2 separate regions of the Homo sapiens genome follow, and region 1 is linked to region 2. The links are contacts of gene promoters, found by promoter capture Hi-C in human tissues and cell types (Jung and others, 2019). All regions are on one chromosome and are shown on one strand. The core of a region is centred on a gene start or on the middle of the fragment in contact, and the rest is flanking DNA. Distances in the headings are between cores, read along the strand shown.

The links. The method cuts DNA at HindIII sites, captures the fragments that hold promoters and counts their contacts. A contact is called where the count stands out against the background at its distance.
Region 1: a fragment that was not itself captured here is called in contact with the fragment with the promoter of KLF12 in region 2 in 1 of the 25 tissues and cell types used here (dorsolateral prefrontal cortex).

Annotation. Positions count from the first base shown.
Region 1 is chr13:74,560,745-74,563,444 of GRCh38, forward strand. No RefSeq gene overlaps it. Among named protein-coding and RNA genes, the nearest start is that of LINC00347, 9.3 kb to the left of the region's middle. The HindIII fragment of the contact is 5,000 bases long and covers 1-2,700 here.
Region 2 is chr13:74,133,149-74,135,848 of GRCh38, forward strand. KLF12 (KLF transcription factor 12) reads right to left here and starts at 1,256. Exons shown (of 8, transcript NM_001400136.1): 1 at 824-1,256. RefSeq lists a silencer at 1,003-2,700. The HindIII fragment of the contact is 8,641 bases long and covers 1-2,700 here.

The DNA of each region.
Region 1 (2,700 bases), core at 123-2,622, 430 kb after region 2:
ATGACATTTTTTTGAGGGGCTAGTAATTCTCACTTTTGTCTTTGTGCTTTTTGTTGTGTCTATTTAAAGCTTGATAGAGGGTTTGGGATTGATTGTTTTGCTTTTATTACAGTCATGTTCATGGACCAAATGTTCTAGGAACAAAAGGATATTAGACATGGCCTGGAAAGCCACAGTCTAGGACCAAAATAATTTAAGCAAAAATTGAATCTTTATTAGCAGGGGTTCACTGATGAGACATAAACATAAATTAAGATTGCTAAATACTGTAAATAAGGAAATTATCTATACTTTTCATATCTGTTATGCTTGTTTTTCTGTTTTAGTGGCAGATAAAGAATGTAGACAGATTCCATGCAAGTTCCCAGAGTAAGATTCTAAGTTGGGAACACATAGCTTAGTATCCAGAGTAGGGCTCTCCTACAGGTGATTTTATGATGCCAGATGTGAGACTTAGAAGAGAATCTGGTTTAACATGAATGTTTCTAAGTATTATCCTGAATATGACAACTGAAGACTGGTAGGAATCCAGATTAGTACTCAGAGGGAGCAGGAGTAGAGCTGCATGAAGGTGATTTGTGTCTTTGCTCATGAATATGGATTCTCCCCAGAGAGAGTTGGAGAAGGCTAAAGCAAACAATGAAGAAAGAAAAAGAGGGGGAGAGAGGACACAACAGGCACTGGCCACCAACAGACAAATAAATTGGTGTTTAAATATCCCTGCTCCTTTTCCTCCCTGGAGGGATAATGTTCCCTGTATTTTCCCCATGGGACTAATGGGATTCTCCATGTGACCATTGTGGAGGCAGACTTAATCATGCCCTCTTCCCCACTCCCTGCTCAAGTTCCTGTGTTTCCCAAATAACTTCATGCACGCAAAGTTTTGTTTCAGGGTCTGTTATGGAGGAGTGAATACTGAGACCCCACCTAAACTGATGAATGTCCTGGTACCAGGAGAGGGTATATACATGCTATGGGTCAAAATTCAAATGTTAAAACTCTACCTTGCAGTACTTCAGAATGTGACCTTATTTGGAAATGGGGTTGTTTGCAGATGTAATTAGTTAAGATTAAAGTGGGCCAATAATTCAATAGGACTGGAGTCCTTACAAAAAGGAGGCGATTTAGACACAGAGATAGACATGCACACTGGAAGAATGCCATGTGAACGCAAAGGCAGAGATCAGAGTTGCTATGTGTTGCATTGTATACCCCTACAATTTTTACGCTGAAGCCCTAACCTTTGAGGTGACTGTATTTGGAGATAGGTCCTACATGGAAGTAATGAAGATTATAAGAGTTCATAAGGGTGGGGCCCTAATCCTTAACTAATTACATCTGTAAACAACTGCATTTCTAATCCCCAATTAATTACATCTGCAATTCTACCGCAAGGTAGAATTTTAACATTTGAATTTTGACCCAATTGAATTTCTCCTGGGACCCTCTCCTGGGACCAGGACATCTGACAGTTTAGGTGATGTCTCAGTATTCATGCCTCCTTAGTTCTTTTAAGGATCTGTGTCCTGAAAAGAAGAGACACTATAAAAAGGGCTCTCTCTCTTTCTCCCTCTCTCTCTCTCATTCCCTGCCCCACAACCATTTCACTACCATGTGAAGACACAATGAGATGGCAGCCATCTACAAATGAAGAATACAGCCCACACTAGAACTGGAATCAACCCGTACCTTGATCTTGAGACTTTTCAGTCTCCAGATCTGTGAGAAATTTATTTCTGGGGTTTAAGCCACCCAGTCTGTAGTATTTTGTTCTGGCAGCTTGAGCTGATTAATGCAAGGGTGATGAGTCTACAAGTCAAGAAATGCCAAAGATTGCCAGAAAACCACCAAAAGCTAGGAGACAGGCATAGTATAGAGGTTGCTCATGGCCCTCAGAAGGAACCAACCTTGCTGACACCTTGATCTTGGACTTCTAGCCTCAGAAATGTGAGACAATAAGTTTCTGTTGTTTAAGCCACCAGGTTTGTGGAACTTTATAAGAGCAGCCCTACTAAATTAATATAACACATAACTGAAAGGTCATGGCGGTGGACAGACCTTAGACATTCTCTGTGGCCTTCAGCCCACCTGGGCCTGTATTTGAGTGTGTATCTACAGGAAAGCCAGAAACTGGAGTTAGATCTGAAACCTATTCCTGAGGACAGGATGTATGTCTGTTGTAGCCTAGACTTTGGCTGTGGGTTTTCTTATAACATTACCCCTGTCCCCTCTTTTCATATGTGGGGCTTTTATCTTATTCCTTGTTGTTTTCCTCATTACTCCCTTAGCAATATAGTATATGGAAATAACAGGACTTAGGAATTACAGCAAATTCCTTTAAGTAAATCTTTTACTTTCTTAAAAAACATAGACATACATTTGATGCTCACCTTGAGTCGGATTTCCTTGACCTTCAAGGAGAGATAATCGCAAACTGAACTTTTAAAGAATATCCTTTACACACAAAAATGAAATAAGTAAGTTAATTAAAACTTAATGAATATAAATACATAATTTAGGTTCTGCAGCAGAAAAAAAGCCTTGGAATCGGCACCAGAATATTGGGATTCTAAGACTTACTTTGCTCTACCAGTTAAGTAACTTTCAAAAGTCAATCTCCTTTCCTAAGAGACTCATTTCTTCATCTATACAATGATGAAATAGGGCTTGGTTACCTCTAAAGCACATAGGCCTTTTACA
Region 2 (2,700 bases), core at 6-2,505:
ACAATAATGAATGTAGCACCAGGAGCACTATTCATGCCAGCAGTGTCATCTCCGCCTTAACCCCTTCCCCTCCACTCTCTCCAGCGCGCACACACAGCCCACACGGTCCCGGTGCGGAGCTATTCATCCACCCCGCTCGAGGCCGGGGGGCCAACTACTTCCACGAGCCCCCCCTCCCCCCCAAGTTCAGCCCTGGGGTTTTATTTCACATCCTTGGCAACTGTCAGGCAAACACTGCAACCAACAATTCCACTAGGGGTAGAAAAACACTTGCTTAATTCACGTTACTTGATAACTTCTTCTGGAAAAAAAAAATTAGGGGAGGTGGGGAAGAAACCTCCTTCTTTCTTCTCCACGAATCCGACCGACGCTACTTGCTTTGCAACAGCATCGCCCTTCCCCGGCCCCCTCCCGCTTCCCAGCACTTTCCCCCTTTAAGAACACAGACCAACCAAAATGATTTAACTTGAGCAGATGACAGAAGGAAAATAAAACACGTTAAGAGAATACGGTCTGATTTGGGATGGCAAAAAAAAAAAAAAAAGAGGAGGGGGTTGTTTATTTTGATAAGAAACGGAATCGGCACAGACCTGAACAGAAGCTGCAGAGCAGGAGAAATTGTTTTCTTTCCCTCACACAGAGTCCCCCTCTCTCTCTCCCTTTCTCTCTCTCACACGCGCGCGCGCACACACACACACACACTCGCACACACACGGCGTCACCCGCGCACACGCACACGCAGAGCCTCTCAGCGGCTCTCTGCAGTTCTCAGGAAATGAATGGGGGGCAACCCGGGGAACTGTTGTACTTGCAAATGACTTACCCGGATCACATGATGCGCTAAATGTAGGGTGGGCCGGTGGGTGGAGGCTGCCGAGTTGCGAGCCCCGGTCTAGTGTGGGGAGCCTCGCCAGGCCCGCATCGAATTACCCCGGGGCCCAGCCGAGGGGGTTGCAGGACGCCGCTTCTCCTCCCTCGCAGCCCGCAGCTCAGGAAACCGGAGAGGCGCTTGGGGTGGGGTGGGGTGGGGTGCTGTGAGGGGGGGGGCCGAAAACAAGAAACCCCCAAACAAAAGAGCTCCGGGTCCTCCTCCCCAGAAACAAAGCCCCGCCGCTGCCGGCGAGCCCCGGGGTGGGGCCGAGGGCGGGGGCGGCGGCGGGGAGGGGCTCGCTCAGCAGGCGCTAAGTCGCTTTATTGCCATAAAATGGGGCCCCCGAGCCGCTCCGCCCGAGGATTAGGAGGCGGGCTCTGAGTGTGATGGTTGAAATCCCCTGTGGGAAACTAACCCCTCCCCGCTCGCAGAGGTAGAAGGCAACACCCACTGCCCGGCCCTCGCCTCCCCGCCCGGACCGCCGGGCTGGGTCCGCGGCGCCTCCACCCCGCCCCACCCCGCCCCACCCCTGCCCCCGCCCTCCGGCCCCGGGCCTCGGCAGCGCTTCCCTTTCACCTGCACCACTTTGCTGCGGCACCCCAAATAACCCACACATGGCCCTGGGAGCTCGGGGAGTCGTCGGCCGAGGGGGCCCGCGGGGGCTTGCGGCGGGAGGGACCCCTGGAGAGCAACTCGCTGGGCAAGGACTCGCGCCGAGCCGCGAGAAAGTCTCCTCTTTTGTGTCAGAGCGCGCCAGACAGGCTTAGGAGAATTCGGGGACCCAAAAAGCGTGCAGCCCGCTTGGGCCCCCACCCCTCGCCGCACCCGCCCGGGTGGGGGCGCGCAGTGGAGGGAGGGGGCTGTCGCCCGGGTCGTCCCCGCGGCTCGCCCGCCAGCGAACTTGGAAAGGTGTGGGCGGAGCCGGCCGGGACTGTGGGGCAGCTCGCGGGGACCGCCCCTGGGCGCCGGGCATCGCCCGCGCCGGGCAACAATGGGGTCAGGCAGGGGCAGCCCCGCGGGCGGTGCCCCCCGCGCGCCGGTGGGGCGGGCGGAGGGCCGGGCGCGGCAGGCAGGGGAGTCATTGTTTGGGTTCCGGAGCGACGCACGTTGCGGGCGAAGCGGGGGCGCCCCTTTTCCCTGCGCTTCACCTTGGCGGGATGAATGGGGGCGAGGCGGAGATGCGCGCCTGGCCTCGCCACCCCAGCGAAGGGGCCCCTGCCTGCGCCAGTTCTGTGGGAAAGCACGCAAACTTGGAGGACTGGGGCAGAGGAAGCGGGATCTGCAGACCCCCGCGGGGCCCGGGGGCGGCGGGGAAGGGAGTCCAGCTCCACTGCCCCACGCCCAGAGCGGAGCCCCAAGAAGCGGACGGCCCGGAGCCGAGTCCTTGACGCTCTCCCCGGCAGCCCCTCCCTCCCCGCCTCCGCGCCCCGGGGAGCGGATCCGCGGGATTGTGGGGCGGGAGAGGGAGGAGGCGGCCGGGCGGCCCTGCAGTTCCCGCGGCGGCTCGGAGGGCGCGGGGTCAGCGCCGAGCCGGAGGGTCGGCGGGGGCGGGGAGCAGACGGGGCGGAAGCGGCCGGGCGGGCGGGGCGCGCGGCGGACGGAGGCGGGAGGCTGTGGGCCCGCCTCCTCACCATCCTAGGTGAGCGCGGCGCTCCGGGCACGACAGTATTCCCCTGCCCCGCGCCCCCGGCCCGGCCCGCCCCGCGTGGGAAATCGCCAGGGCTGTGGGAAGGCCGGGAAGGGGAAGTTTGTGTGCAGAGAGAAAGCTTTGCTGTACTGTGGCGTGGAGTGGGGTGGGAAGAGAAACAAGGGAGAGGCCGAGAAACAGG